Linked DNA regions of Homo sapiens: all the other regions are linked to region 3. Evidence: promoter capture Hi-C in 16 types of primary human blood cells and fetal thymus (Javierre and others, 2016). All regions are on one chromosome and are shown on one strand. The core of a region is centred on a gene start or on the middle of the fragment in contact, and the rest is flanking DNA. Distances in the headings are between cores, read along the strand shown. Region 1 holds the start of LOC124901224 (U4 spliceosomal RNA). Region 2 overlaps COL23A1 (collagen type XXIII alpha 1 chain). Region 3 holds the start of ZNF354B (zinc finger protein 354B). Region 4 overlaps COL23A1 (collagen type XXIII alpha 1 chain).

What was found. Contacts are between HindIII fragments. The CHiCAGO score rates a contact against its expected background, and 5 or more counts as called.
Region 1: a fragment that was not itself captured here is called in contact with the fragment with the promoter of ZNF354B in region 3 in 3 of 17 cell types (endothelial precursors, M1 macrophages and M2 macrophages); the score reaches 10.4 in endothelial precursors.
Region 2: a contact is called between a fragment that was not itself captured here and the fragment with the promoter of ZNF354B in region 3, in 1 of 17 cell types (neutrophils). The highest score is 5.1, in neutrophils.
Region 4: a fragment that was not itself captured here is called in contact with the fragment with the promoter of ZNF354B in region 3 in 1 of 17 cell types (monocytes); the score reaches 5.0 in monocytes.

What each region holds. Positions count from the first base shown.
Region 1 is chr5:179,489,415-179,493,246 of GRCh38, forward strand. It overlaps LOC124901224 (U4 spliceosomal RNA), which reads right to left and starts at 2,743; the gene lies at 2,601-2,743. The HindIII fragment of the contact is 5,384 bases long and covers 1-3,832 here.
Region 2 is chr5:178,309,714-178,313,336 of GRCh38, forward strand. The region is part of intron 2 of COL23A1 (collagen type XXIII alpha 1 chain); the gene reads right to left. Among named protein-coding and RNA genes, the nearest start is that of PHYKPL, 79 kb to the left of the region's middle. RefSeq lists an enhancer at 2,896-3,398. The HindIII fragment of the contact is 6,207 bases long and covers 1-3,623 here.
Region 3 is chr5:178,857,872-178,861,810 of GRCh38, forward strand. ZNF354B (zinc finger protein 354B) reads left to right here and starts at 2,082. Exons shown (of 5, transcript NM_058230.3): 1 at 2,082-2,256; 2 at 3,126-3,209. The coding sequence starts at 3,177. RefSeq lists enhancers at 1,932-2,664, 1,949-2,148 and silencers at 2,289-2,488, 2,569-2,648. The HindIII fragment of the contact is 7,869 bases long and covers 1-3,939 here.
Region 4 is chr5:178,274,787-178,278,801 of GRCh38, forward strand. The region is part of intron 5 of COL23A1 (collagen type XXIII alpha 1 chain); the gene reads right to left. Among named protein-coding and RNA genes, the nearest start is that of PHYKPL, 44 kb to the left of the region's middle. The HindIII fragment of the contact is 3,526 bases long and covers 764-4,015 here.

The DNA of each region.
Region 1 (3,832 bases), core at 480-2,979, 630 kb after region 3:
ACGCCTGTAATCCCAGCACTTTGGGAGGCCGAGGTGGGTGGATCATGAGGTCAGGAGATCAAGATCATCCTGGCTAACACAGTGAAACCCTGTGTTTACTAAAACAATACAAAAAAAATTAGCCGGGCATGGTGGCGGGTGCCTGTAGCCCCAGCTACTCGGGAGGCTGAGGCAAGAGAATGGCGTGAACCCAGGAGGCAGAGCTTGCAGTGAGCCGAGATTGCACCACTGCACTCCAGCCTGGGCAACAGAGAGAGACTCCGTCTCAAAATAAATTAATTAAATAAAGCGGGAGGCTGAGACAGTCACTTGAGGCTAGGAGTTCAAGACCAGCCTGGCCAACATGGCAAAACCCCTTATCTACTAAAAATACAAGAATTAGCCTGGCATGGTGGCGCACCTGTAATCCCAGCTACTTGGGAGGCTGAGGCAGGAGAATCACTTGAAGCCAGGAGGCGGAGGTTGCAGTGATCTGAGATCACCCCACTGCACTCTAGCTTGGATGACAAAGCAAGACTCCATCTCAAAAAAAAAAAAAAAGTAAAGTGGAATTTTAGAAATCTAGGCACATTGCAGCAAAATTTTGGAATACCAAGGAAAAAAGGAAAATCCTCATAGTTTTCTGACCGAGAGAATAGGTTGTCACAATAGAATGAAAGTCAGCTTGACATCAAGACTTATCATCAATCCCGAATCCTAAAAGATAGTAGAGCAATTTCTCTAACATTCCAAAGAAAAAACTATTCGTAATCTAGGATCCAAGACCCAGCCAATCTAGCCTTAAATTGGGGGTGCAAAATAAAGACATTTTCATGCATATATGGGTTCATCCCACCTATAAACTCCCCCCAAAGAATCTAAGAAAATAAAAGAGATCAACTACAGTAAGTGCTGGAGGGAGAAATAAAGACAGAGATGATGCACTAAACTGGTCTTAAAAATATGAAACTAAAGTCTCCAATGAGCTCAGTGTGGTAGGGAATTGGTCCCAGGCGGGCAGGAGCAGCGGCGAGAGAACGGCGATTAAATTCACATTCCCAGTGCGGGCAGGACTGTCCCAAAGCAAGAACAGAGCTTTCTGCAAATGATCCGGTCAGACCTGTCTCACTTCTGAAAACAACCTCATTGGGATTTCTAATAAACTGGACTGATTCACTAAATAATTGGACTAGCAAACCAAACCAGTTTTACCTTTTTTTTTTTTTTTTGAGACAGAATCTCGCTCTGTCGCCCAGGCTGGAGTGTAGTGGCATGATCTCAGCTCACTGCAAGCTCCGCCTCCCGGGTTCACGCCATTCTCCTGCCTCAGCCTCCCGAGTAGCTGGGTCTACAGGTGCCCGCCACCACGCCTGGCTAATTTTTTGTATTTTTAGTAGAGACAGGGCTTCACCGTGTTAGCCAGGATGGTCTCCATCTCCTGACCTTGTGATCTGCCCACCTCGGCCTCCCAAAGTGCTGGAATTACAGGCGTCAGCCACAAAGCTCTTTCTCTTAACTTACATTGTCAGGAAACTGGTAACATAGATTGAATGACCCGCCCCAGTTTTTCACCCACACTCACACCCTCGCCATAGCCTCCCTTTCCCACCCCTTGACTTTGGGCTTGGCCAAAGGGATGCCAGCAGGCATGACACAGCAAAACTGGAAATGTGTTTGTGGGGTTAGATGTGCCGTCTCTCAGGGCCCTGCCATCAGCCAGAGACGAAACTGCCCCTGCTGGTCCCAGGAAGAGGATGAGAGGCATGTGGAGCAGAGCTGCCCAGCCAACCCACAAACTCATGAGTAAGAAATAAATGATTATTACTGTTTGCCACTGAGATGTGGGGATGGTTTGTTACACAGCATAAGTGTGACAATAGCTAACTGATACTCAGAGGGCAAGTGCCACTGCAGCAAACATGAGGAGGAATTCCTGAGCCTTTATATTAAAGTGGCTGCTCTCACTAGAGACACGATTGGACTCTGGCTGGTGCGATGACTCACACCTGCAGTCCCAACACTTGGGAGGCCAAGAGCAGAGGATTGCTTGAGCCCAGGAGTTTGAAAGCAGGCTGGGCAATGGATCAAGACTCCATCTCTACAACAACAACAACAAAAACACAGTGTTTTGAACTGAAGGAGCCATACAAAGGATGTCATACAGATTTATTAAATTCAAAACCAGGCTGGGCACGGTGGCTCACACCTGTAATCCCAGCACTTTGGGAGGCAGAGGTGGGCGGATTACCCGAGGTCAGAAGTTCAAGACCAGCCTGGTCAACATGGTGAAACCCCGTCTCTACTAAAAATACAAAAATTAGTCAGGCGTGGTGGTGCACGCCTCTAATCCCAGCTACTTGGGAGGCTGAGGCAGGAGAATTGATTGAACCTAGGAGGTGGAAGTTGCAGTGAGTCAGGATTGCGCCACTGCACTCGAGCCTGGGCGACAAGAGCGAAAGTCAGTTAAAAAAAAATCCAGAAAAACTACTTTTCTGGAATGCAAATCAGAATAGTGGCTGCTTGGGGATTAGGGGACAAGGGAAGTTGAGTAGACTGTAAAGGGATTGGGGGGAATTTTCTACAATGGTGGCAATGTTTTCTGCCTTGATTGGGGTGTTGGCTACAGATAGATATTTGTAAAAAGCCATTGAATTATATATTTAAGATCTGTGTGTTTTACTAAACTATTCCTCAATTTTTCAATTAGCAATAATCACGCCTCGGATAAACCTCATTGGCTATGATACTGCCACTGCACAAAGCTATTCCTCAATTTTTAAAAACATGTCTGTATGGAGTGGATACCCAGACCAGGGTGAGGCTGAGGTGCAAACAGGCCTACCTGAGGTGCCGGGCAGCCTTCCAAGACTCCAAGACTAGGTGGGCTCTGGGCAGACAAAGCCTCCCTCTCACAAAAGGTCTGGGAACCCTTTTCAGGGGGCTCAGAGTCCGGCCACATCTCTAGGTTTTCTGACGTCCTAGACACACCATGAGAAAGAACTTTGACTGGGCTCTCAATCTGGTTGGTGACCTAGGATATGGGGCTCATACCCAGGACCAAGAACCCAGGGCTTCTATCCAGAGCCTAGGACTTGGGGCTTATACCCACGGCCTAAAACCTGGGGCATATACCCAGGGCCTAGGACACAGGTTTATGCCCAGGGCCTAGGACACAAGGCTAATACCTAGAAAGAACACAGAACTTACACCCAGGGCCTGGAACTCGGGGCTTATAACCAGGGCCTAGGACATGGGGCTTATACCCAGAGACTAGGACACAAGGCTTATAACCAGAAAGGACACAGAACTTATATTCAGGGCCTAGAACCCGGGGCTTATACCCAGGGATTAGGACATGGGGCTTATACCCAGAGCCTAGGACACAAGGCTTATACCCAGAAAGGACGTGGGGCTTATACTCAGAGCCTAGGACACAAGGTTTATACCCAGAGCCTAGGACATGGGGCTTATACTCAAAGCCTAGGACATGGGGCTTATACCCAGAGCCTAGGAAACACAAGGCTTATATGCAGAAAGGACACAGGGCTTATACCCGGAGCCTAGGACATGGGGTTTAACCCAAGGTCTAGGACACAAGATTTATACCCAGAGCCTAGGACAAGGGGCTGAGAACCAGAGAATAGGACACAAGGCTTATACCCAGAACCTAGGACAGAAGGTTTATACCCAGAGCCTAGGACACAAGGCTTGTATCCAGAGCCTAGGACCCGGGGCTTCTACCCAGAGCCTAGGACCCAGGCCTTACACCTAGAGCCTAGGAGGCGGGGCTTACACCCAGAGCCTAGAACCCGGGGCTTATACCCAGAGTCTAGGACCCTAGGCTTATACCCAG
Region 2 (3,623 bases), core at 1,097-3,596, 550 kb before region 3:
GCATCATCCTGCCCCAGCCCCCAACCTGGACCCCTTCCTTCTCAGCATCAGGCGAACGCTGCCCCTGCACTCAGTCCCCCACTCTGCCACTCGCTCTGCTGTGCTCGATTCTCCCTCCTGGCACAAAGGACCTCCTGCAGTATGTACTCTGCATCTCAGGCAGCTCTGTGTCCCCAACTCCCACTGCAGGACACGACCAAGTGATGTGTGTTCAGGGGAGGAAGGGCGGGGGGGAGAGGGAGGGAGGGAGAAGGGGACAGGCAGGGAGGCCTCAGGTCTCCTCACTGCTTCTGGGATTCTCCTGAAAAGACTGCAAGTCCAGCAAGCTCCAGGGCTTAGGAGAGACACAGGGCCACCTGGTCTGATGTGACGTGCCAGTGAGATAGGGAGTGCCTTCCACCCTTCCTTTCCCGGACTGCGAGAAGACAGGCGGTGAGGCCCTGGGAGAGGGCGAGTGTGCCGGAGCTGCACTCCCTGCTGACTGTGGGCTCCCACTCCACTGCTTCCACCAACAGAGAGGCCAGGCGGGCTTGGAGACTGGATTGCAGGAGCCGCAGGAGTGGGGGCAGGACGGACGGCCTCTCCTGAGTCTCTGGACTATCAGGTGCCGAGAGCCCACCATGGGCAGTGACCTGGGTTCAACATCTACTGGGTGCCAAGCCGGCTGCTCACCCAGTGAGCATGAACTTGGGACCCTTTTCCTCCAGGACTCCCTGTGCCCGCCCCGCAGGCTCACCTTCTGCCTCGCCAGTCCTCTGAAGAAGGTGCTAGTGTTCCCTGCACAGATGAGAACTCTGGGGCTAAGCCAGGTGAAGGGGCCCACCTAAGGCTGTGTTGCTAGAGCCTCCTGGAGCCCTTCATAGTCTGTGGCTCCCAAGTGCAAGGACAGTTGTGTCCCATATGCTGAGCTACCGGGCAGGCGGCCTTGGCGACCAGGGAGGCTGTTCCTCTGGGGATGTGGTCCCTTTGCTGGGGCTGGCTGTGCCCCAGGGCATCTGGGCCTGGTGTGGAGCAGGTTGCCCCGGCCCCTGGGAGAGCAGGGCCAGCTTGGCTGCAGCTAAGACCTGGCTCCAACAAGCAAAACCAGGCCTTTGGCCAGGTGGTTGGCCTCAGAGTTTTTGCTTGTTTCTTGTTTTTCTTCTTTCTACAAGCAGAAGAACCTTTCCTGCTGCTGCCTGAGACTCAGACACTCAGGAAGGCACTGGGAGTCTGTCTTGATTGATCTGCTCATGTGGAGAAGGGGAAACTGAGGCTGCAAGGGATAGGACAGGTCTTGCCCACGGATGCTGCTGGAAAACTTGTCCCAGCTAGAGGGTCTAGCGCTGAAGACCACCTTGGGCTGGGAGAAGGCCACTGTCCCCCACTCTGCATGGGACCCACACGGCTCTGAGCTAGGGGCTGGCTGCTGGGGAACGACAGTATTTCACCGTGGGTGCCACCACAGTGGCATCTGCAAAACTTCTTTTCAGAGGCTGGGGCGAGGGGTATGCCAGAGCAGGAGGGGAAGAACCTGACTGGTGGGGAAGCTGTGTCTTCTGAGCAACTTACTCAACCTCATTGAACCTTAGAGTTTCCAACTCGGGAGGATAGAGGTTTGGGAGTGGTGGCAACTAGACTTGCCTTGCGGAATCATGAACCAGATGAGCTGGCAGCAGACACACCAGCCTGGGGTACAAAAGGGGTGCTTCTTTGGGACCCCAAGAAATAACTGGCTGCAGGGGCCTCTGGGCCATCACAATGCGGGGCTTTAATGTAAGTGGGTTCTTTCCTCTGTGTGTGTGTGTGTGTGTGTGCGCGTGTGTGTGTGTGTGTGTGTGTAATGCGGGGCTTTAATGTAAGTGGGTTCTTTCGTGTGTGTGTGTGTGTCAGGGTCTCACTCTGTCACCCAGGCTGGAGTGGCGTGATCACAGTTCACTGCAGCTTCACACGTCTGGGCTCAAGTGATCATCCCACCATGGCCTCCCAAAGCGTTGGGATTATAGGCCTGAGCCACTGTGTAACTGTTTTTTGTTTTGTTTTGTTTTGTTTTTTTTTTGAGACGGAGTCTCACTCTGTTGCCCAGGCTGGAGTGCAGTGGCGTGATCTCGGCTCACCGCAACCTCCGCCTCCCAGGTTCAAGCGACTCCTCTGCCTCAGCCTCCCGAGCTGCTGGGACCACAGGCACGCGCCACCATGCCTGGCTAATTTTTGTATTTTTAGTAGAGACCGAGTTTCACCATGTTGGCCAGGCTGGTCTCGAACTCCTGACCTCAGGTGATCCACCTGCCTCGGCCTCCCAAAGTGCTGGGATTACAGGTGTGGGCTACCGCGCCCGGCCTGCGTAACTGGTTCTTATGAGTCCCCAGGTGGGTGAAGCTGGAGACACAGTGACTGCACCTCAGCAACACTGCAGGCAGGTTCGAGGTGCTGAGACGCCGACGGAGCCCTTGACTGCACTTTGAGCAAAGTGCAAGGGCAGCCCCGTGGGAAGCCGGGAGCTTTCCCGTGTCCCTAATCACTGCCTGTCTGTGAACCTCTGGATGAGAATGCAGAGGCTGAGCTCTTTGGGAATGAGGTTTCTCAATGAAATTTCAGGGTGCCAGGTCTAGCACAGGCCAGCCAGGGCTCCAGCTCGTTGCCCAATGACTCTGGACGTCTGAGAGCAGCATCAGCACAGTAAACAACTCCAGGGAGGCCTACGGCTTTCTCAGCACTGTTGGAGGCCAGACAAAAGGAAACCATTTCTAACTCATAAAAATCTCATCTCTGGTTGGGGTGGAGAACTCACGCCGCTGATCAACTCCAAAGGGGGGCCTCGAACCCCAACAGGCTTCCTCTGAGGCCTGAGCTGCAAGGATTTGGCTCTCTAAGTGGCTCCCCCCGCCCAGCCCTCCCGGCACCTCCCTCCCCAAGGACGTCCCCTCTAGCAATGCCCGTCTTATCAAGGTCCCTTCACAAACCTGCAGCCACCCCACCTCAGCCGCACTGGGGACAGCCTGCCCAGGCCTCTCCCTCTCACCCTACTGGCCTGGCTGCTTCCTGTGGGCTCCTGACTGGTTGCTCCGCCCTCAGCCCAACCCTGATCCTCCCTTCAGCCAGCCCCTGAGGACAGGGGGTTCATGGAATCCACACAACAGTCTGTGAAGTGCTTTCATTTCTCTCTACTCTTTTCTTCCTATAGATCAGGGGAACTGAGCCCCACAGAAGTCAAGAATTACTACCAGGCGCAACAGCCAAAAGGTGGAAGCAACCCAAACGTCCACGGACAGAAGAATGAGCAAACAGAACGTGCACTGATACAGCGGGACGTGAGTCAGCCCTGGAGAGGAAGGAGTTCCTGCGCACGCTGCAGCATGATGGGCCTGGAGGACGTCACGCGATGGGAAGTAAGCCAGACACAGAAAGACAAATACGGAAGGATTCCACTTCTGGAGGCTCCTGCAGTCGCCAGATTCACAGGGGCAGAAGGTGGAATAGGGGGTGCCATCGGTGGGCTGGGCTAGGGGAGGCGAGACTGGGAAGTCGGTGGGCCCAGAGACTCCGTTTTGCAACATGAAGAGTTCTGGAGAGGGATGGTGGTGGTGACGGGTGCGTGACAATGTGAACATACTGAATGCCACTCAAGTGTACACTTAAGGATGGTT
Region 3 (3,939 bases), core at 832-3,331:
TATGGAAGACAGCAACACATTCGGCTTTGTGCTGAGAAGCAGAGTGTAGAAGAAAAACAGTAGATACTGGAAAAGGAGTCAAAAGCCATATGGTTTAGGGCCCACAACAAGGATTCTGGCTTTCACTCTAATTGCAAAGAGAAGACAATAAAACATCTCATTTTTGTTAAAAAATCTTTTTTACACCAGGCATAGTGGCTCACGCCTGTAATCCCAGCACTTTGGGAGGCCGAGGCGGGAGGATCACTTGAGCCTAGGCGTTTGAGACCAGCCTGGGCAACATAGTGAGACCCCGTCTCTCAAAAACAAAAACAAACAACAACAACAACAACAAAAAAAAACAGAAGCAGCAGCTTGTGGAAGTGTAGAGTAGTGTAGAGAGAGATAACAGGGCCTTGCACTGGGCAAGCAACCATGGAAGGACACCTGCAGTTCATGGCAACAGGGTGGGCGTGGCTCTACAAGTAAGGGACAGTTGTGCCATATGGAATTACCTATATGGGAAGATTGGTAATTAACACACAGGGAAATCACCATGCTACTTTCTTCTATGATTTTGACTATTTTAGATTCTACGTGTAAATGAAATAATGCAGTATTTGTATTTCTGTGCCTTCTTTATTTCACTTAACATAATGTCCTCCGGGTTCATCCATATTGTCACATATGTCAGGATTTCTTTATTTTTTTAAGGCAGAATAATATTCCTTTGTGTATATAAACACATTGTGGCCGGGCTCGGTGGCTCACGCCTGTAATCCGAGCACTTTGGGAGGCCGAGGAGGGTGGATCACGAGGTCAGAAGTTCAAGACCAGCCTGGTGAAGATGGTGAAACCCCATCTCTATTAAAACTACAAAAATTAGCTGGGCGTGGTCGCGGGTGCCTGTAATCCCTGCTACTTGGGAGACTGAGGCAGAGAACTGCTTGAACCTGGAAGGCGGAGGTGGCAGTGAGCCAAGATTGCGCCATTGCACTCCAGCCTGGGTGACAGAGCAAGACACCGTCCCAAACAAACAAACAAACAAAACATTTCCTTTATCTATTCATCCATCAACAGATAGTTGTTTCCATATCTTGGCCATGGTGAATAATGTTGCAGCTAACATGGGAGTGCAGGTATCTCACGGAGTTTCACTTCCTCTGGATCTATAGCCAGAAATGGGATTGGTGGATCCTAATGTAGCTCTAGTTATAATTTTTTGAGGAACCTCTATACCGTTTTCTGTAATGATTGTACCAATTTACATCCTTTTGATAGTGGCCATCCTAATGGAGGTGCAGTGATTTCTCATTGAGTTTGGGTTTATATTTCTCTTATACCTAGAGATGTTTACCATCTTTTTATATGCTTGTTGCTCATTGCTCATTTGTATATCTTCATTGGAGAATTGCCTATTCAAGTCCTTTGTCCATTTTAAAATCAGGTTATTTGGTTTTGTTATTGTTGTTGAGTTGTAAAAGTTCCATATAAATCCAGGATACATTGCAAATCAGATATATGATATGTAAGCATTTTCGTCTATTCTGTAGATTGCCTTTGTTTCCTTTGATTAGCCAAAGTTTTTAAGTTTGATGTAGTCCCATTTGTCTATTTTTGCTGTTATCTGTGCTTCTGATGTCATATTCAAGAAATCATTGCCATCTCCAACATCCTGAAGTTTTTTCCCTTTTTACTTTAGTAATTTATAAAATAATTTGGTCTCACATTTAGGTTTTTAATCAATTTTGAGTTAATTTTTATGTATGGTGTACGGTCAGGGTACAGGCTCATCTTTTGCACGTGGAAATCCAGCTTTGTCAACATCTTTTGCAGGGGATTTTCCTTTCCCAATTGTGTAGTAGTTGTTTTCGTGCCGCCCACGCCATCCTGAAATTCACACACAGAGTTGCAAGTTACTGCCCTCCGGGAACCTCCCCTTCTCTTCCGAAGAACCAGGAACCCGGGGCTCTACAGCTCACCCGGGCCCTCTCATAGGTCTGGGCGCCTAACAGCTCAGCTGCGACCTCGCCTCAAACGCGTGGAACTACACTTCCCAGAAAGCCAGCGTCCTCCCGTGGACTCCATTTCCTAGAGGCCTTAGCGGCCGCCTTGCTCCTCTAGGTCCCAGGCGCTCTGCGGAGCTTTCGCTGCCCGGTGAGCGGCGCCGGGCTTGAGGTCGCCCAGACGTCGGAGGAGCCGGGTCACGAGGCTGGAGCTTCCTGCTTGCAGAGTGCGGCGGGGAGGCGCGGCCCGGGAACGCGGGATCCTGGGGAGGTGAGCGGCATGGCTGGCTGTGCCGGGAGGAGGCGGCGCCTGGCGCCAGGGCGACCTGAGGCCGCGGGGCTCCGAGGGCCTCTGTGGGCGCGGGGGGGCACCCCCGCGTCTGTCACCGGCCCCCGCGCCAGGACTTGGACTCTCGCCCCTCACGGGCCGCTCCGGTGCCGCTGCCGACGCCCCTGCCTCTGGCTCGCGCCGCCCGCCGTGAACGCGGGGCCAGGCGTTTCCTCCCGGGCCCACCCTGCGCGCGCCGTGTGGGCCTCGCGGACTCGGGGCGCCGGGACCCCGAGCGCAGGGCAGAGGCAGCCGGGCCCGGTTTCTGAGTCAGTCCCCAGGACGGCCACTCCTCCTGCCTCGGGACACCCAGCGCTTTCCTCTTCAAAGCCGTTTTCCGTGGAGTCGGGAGACGATTCGTTGGCGGGAGAGAGAGGAACCGGCTGGGAAAGGCTTGAGGCGGAGGGAAGTCGTCCCGGGGCCGTCGTGGTGGGAGTCCCGGCCCGCCTCGCAGCGGCGTGAACGGGGCAGGTGCCCCGGCGCTGCCTCAGTTTCCTGAGCGGTGCAGTGGGTGCTGGCAGTGCCAGCTGGCGCCGAGGAACTCAGCGGCGTGGGGCGAGCCCTGGCCCTGGTGGGCTCAGCGGGTCGCTGCTGCCACTGCGGGTCCAGCGTCCCCTCCGTAAGCCCCAAGCCTGTGGGGCCTGGGCCTGGCCGGGCGGCCCAGCGCTGCTCTGGTCCGCGGGCTCCTGGCTCCTCCCGAATCCCTGTGAGGGCGCGCGGGGTCCTTCTCAGCGGGAGTCGGGGTTTTAGAGCTGCGGATTCCAGGGCTGGAAAGCAGAAGGGGTTCTTCCTGGCTCCCTTTTTCTTCTCAGATCTGCCTTCTGGAGACTGCGCCGTCCTCCCGGGAGAGCCAGAAAGAGGACATGGCTGCTGGGCAGCGGGAAGCGAGGCCCCAGGTGAGCTCATTGCCCTCCCAGATCCCAGTGGATGGATTTTCCCCACTAACTGGAGTTCTTCACCCGGGACCATCTCCAGCCAGGATGGAGCCCAAGTCCTTTTCTCTTGGAGGAGCTGGTCCGCCCTCATGACTGGTGGATTCTGTAGGGAGGACCACCCACCCTCCCCACCCGTGTCTAGTGGTTTTTAATTAACAGTTTGTTCACGAATCTTCATCCATTGTGTGACTAGTTTGACAAGTAAGATACCACAAGTCTGTCTGTCACTAAGAGCAAACGTACACACGTGGGAAAAATCCCTGCCTCCTCCACTCACCCATGTCTCCGTTCCTGTCCTTCGCAGGAATACTTTCTCTTTTCACCCCTGAGAATCCTCATAACACCACCCCTTCCCCAGGCTTCTCCAACGCATCGTTGTTAGTTTTTTGTCCCTCTTAACTTTGTGAATCATATTCTTTGCTTGTATCACTGTCTTGAAATCTATTGTAGACCGTTTTCATTTTTGTGTAGTGGGAATGAGGAGGCCACCCTTTCTAGTTGAGACGAGAGTGAACAGAGTTGGAGAGGTCGCTTGACTCGCAGGACACAGAAGACCCCTCAGCTAGCGGCAGGAAGGGTTTCATGGGATAGCAATAGTGCAGAGGCAGCGTAGGTGGTAGTTAGGAAGTAGGGCTGTTAAGCCAGATGGCAGCGTTTTAACCCATCTCCTCTGTTGCTGTTTGTGGGCCTT
Region 4 (4,015 bases), core at 1,277-3,776, 580 kb before region 3:
CTCATCTATGGATGCCACAGCACTGTGCCTGGAGATGCTCATGACTGTCCAGCTCGCTCCCCTGCCTGATCAAAGCCCTTGAATCCACCAGAGGTTTTCAACGCCTTCTGCCCTCTGAGAAACCCCACAGCTGTTTACAAGCCTTGGTTCTGCTTTAAATCACTCTTTCCCCATGGAGATCAGCCGGGCTCCGGGATGTTTCCGGATGTGTGAGAAACAAACAAAGCTCTGGGCTGCACATGAGCAGCAGGCCAGGCGGCCACCTGTCCTGGGACCCCGGATGGGCAGCCCTCCCCCAGCCCTGGTGCTGCCTCAGTCCCTTGCTTTGCTCAGGGACTGGGGTGTCCCCGAGCCTCAGTTTCCTCATTTGTGAAATGCAGGTCATGCCATTCTCCTCTCAAACAACAAGTTCAAATTGGGTCCCAGGTCAGTGGCCTTTGTTTCCCAGACCAATGCAAGATGCGAAGCCCCACGGGCAAGCAGACACTGGATTAGGGTTTGCCCTGGCCCTGGGGGACAGTGCTGGGAGCGACCCGTGTGTGGCCTTCCAAGAGGCCGGCAGCAGGACCCTGGACGGTGCCGCCAGCTCTGCCACCTGTGAAGCTGAGGCTTTGCTCTCTCCCTCCCTCGGCCTGTCGCGTATTTCCTAAGCCGGGTTCACAGAGCCATCTTTTGAGGCATATTAACAAGTGTTGAAACCAGCCCTATAAACGTTATAAAGTTAATTAGGGAAGAAGGGAGGGGGAGGAACAAAAATAAACCAAGCTTGTGGCACACTCAGCATCATCATGAGGTCAGCGTGCTCCCTGACCCCTTCTCGGAACTGTTTTCCTGCTGCCTCAGAATCGCGCAGGTTCTCTTACAGGGTCATGGTTCCCCTTAACTGCTCCGTAGATACCAATCTGAACGTAAAAAACTACCTTTTCCCTACTCTTTCAGAGCCTGCACACCAGTGAAACTACAAAGTCAGCTGGTCGGAAGGATCCCACGGGAGCTGATTCACCGGAGTGCGGTCTCCACATCCTGCTGATTTCAGCCCCCCGGTCCTGACCGATCAATGACCCCAATTTTCCAGCCCCTCACCCTCCATGATCCCCTTAAACACCCTGGCCCAGAACTCCTTGGGGGGATGGATTTGAGGGTCTCCTCCATCTCCTTGCTGGGTGCCCTGCAATCATTAAACTCTTTCTCTGCAGCAAACCCTGCTGTCTCAGTGTAATTGGCCTGGTACTAACGCAGCGGGCATTTGAAACTGGTGGTCCTATAACCGTGTGGCTACAGAGGGGAGGTTTCCTGGTGAAGTACATTCGGGATGTGGAGTATGGTGGCTCCATCCCTGGAGTGTCTTGATGCTCATCTGCCGGGAAAAGCCTGTGCTGCTCTTCTTGCTCTATGTTAGGGAAAGGTCCAGGGCTGGCCCTGTCCTCCTGACTGCGGCCCAGCACTCCCCAAGATCGGCTCCAGCATCTGCTGAACTGAACCAAACAAATAAACTGGCCGCGTTTAGAAGCAGACAGGAGTAAACGCTCAAATCGGCCAGAGCTGGGGGCCTGTCTTGCTTTCTGGCTGTAATTAATGCTGACGGTTCCTGTGAGGGAACGGAGCCCTCAAAATGCACTAGGACAAGGCCCCTGGAAGAAGGGCTTACCAGGATTATCAGGCCAGGACCTAGTAATTACACCCCAGATGTTGACAATTCATCAAATTACAAGGCTGGTGGGGCCTGAGGTCCCAGCCTGGGAAGTGCACATTCCTGTGTGAAGGTTCCCTGAGCCTCCTCCCAGCTCTCATTAGAGCCGGCTGGTGGATAAGGGGTGGGTGGGCAGCCCCCTTCAGGGCGGGTCAGCACCATACGGTTCTGATTTCTCAGCCTAGGCTCTTTGTACACACATGGGCTGCAGCAAGACTGTCCGGGGCTTAGCAATTTCCCAAACTCAAATTCTTTGTGCTAGGGAAAGGAAGAAAAGACCCTCAAAGTTAGGTTCAGCCCAGCTGTTGCTGGTGCCTTGAGGGTGGCACAATGTTCCTCCTGGAGCACTTCTTCCTGGGACCTAGGGCATTTTGTAGAGTGGGCTCTGTAGTGACCTATGCACCTCAACTCAGCAAACTGTAGGAGCTTCAGCTGGGTGGGGTCCCAAGCGCTTGCACCAAGGTCAGAGACTTGCCCCTCATGTGCTCCTTGGCCTTGCTTGGGCTGCTGCCCTCTGTGCTGCTCATCTGTAGTGTGAGGGGCTGGAATTGGGCAATGTCTTTCTGGGAGCCAGGTTTTATTTGATCCGTGCAGTTAAAAGAACCCAGACTGGGCATAACGGCTCATGCCCGTAATCCCAGCACTTTGGAAGGTCAATGTAGGAGGATTACCCTGGCTCAGGAGTTTAAGACCAGCCTGGGCAACATAGTGAGACCTCATCTCTAAAAAAAAAAAAAAAAAAGGTTGGGTGTGGTGGCACATGCCTGTAGCTCCCGCTACTCAGGAGGCTGAGGCAGGAGGATTGCTTAAACCGTGGAGGTTGAGGCTGCAGTGAGCTATGATGGCACCACTACACTCCGGCCTGGGTGACAGAGCGAGACTTTGTCTCAAACAAACAAAAAAACAAAGAACCCCAAACCAAATGAATTAGTCACATTTAAAAATTGCAACCTTTTACATAAACGTCCAGAGTTTGGGCTTTTCTTGAAAAGCCGGGAGATCTCGCAGACCCTGGTCCACAGGCTCCACCCTTCCCTGTGGTCTCACGCCTAGCCTGCTGCCCATGGCGAGGTGACTCGCCAGCTCTGCAGGGCATCTGATTTGTAACCCTTGGCCTAGAAAGTCTCCCAGGGCCCTTTCAGCTCTATGATGCTGTGAGGCTGTGAAACCGGCTGGCTTCTATTTTGGGGAGAGGACCTGCTCGGTGATGCCTGAGTGTGCTGGAAGTAATTACATGTATGTCCATGTCACACATCATGGCTAGCAGAGGTGGTGTTTACAGCACTGTGCCTTTGAACCGATCCCAAAAATACCTGCTGAAATGACACATTTGCCCATGACTGGTGGGGAGAGACATGATTACCCTGTCAGGTATCAGAAAATACTGTTCCTCATTAAGGTGGCAGAGAGGAAAGAGCTTGACCCCCGTGGGGTGAGGGAGGATGGAGGATGGGACCGGCGGGCCGGGATGTGTCTGACTGAGCTGCCCAGGTCACCAGCTCAGGCACAGAGGGCTGTTCTGGTGGAAGGAAGTCTGGGGGAACACACCATCAGCTCATTTTGGTGCCAGCCGTGGATGGGGTGGAAATCCAGAGTAGGGAGCAGCAGCTGACGGGAAGTGTGACCTTCACAGAAGGGTGACCGCCACAGCGTGGCCAAACTCCACGAGGCAGTCTAGAGGGAGACAGCGTGACCAGGACAGCTCGCAGCACACACTGAAGCTGCAGTCACTCTGCCTCGCCCTGTGGCCCCTGGACCATGCCCAGGCCAAGCTCTGCCCTCCTGCCCCACCCTTGGGGCATGGTTGGTTTCCCAGCCTCCCTGAGAGCTGCCCCCTAGGCTGTGGGGTGGGCCCTCCTTGGTTTCCACAGACAATTGTCACCCACTGGTAAAGAACTGGTTGAAACCCTTAAAAATGCAAAGGATTTTTATAGAATTTGGATTTCCAGCTTCTCTGGAAATGTTGGAAGATGTGGTAGTGATGACTGCATGTGCGGAACTGCACCCCGATGGGGCGGGTGCCCCGATTCACCCCAGGCCCTGCCGTTTTCTCTGCTCTCCTGCGCCCAACCAGCCTCATCTATTTTCTCACTTGCCGGCGGCTGCAAGCGTCAGTGAGCCCGTGAGCCTGCAATTCTAGCTCAGGTCCATCTCTCCAGTCCTCCCACCCTCCTGGGCCAGCCTCCGCCAGGCCCCCTACCTCCTGCCCCACATACCCATCCTTCCTGCACAGTGAAGGAGCAGGGTACATCCTGATGATGAGGTCCTGCCCCGTAGACCTGGGAGTGAGCTGCTGAATTTCCCTGGAGCGCGTTTCCTCCTCTG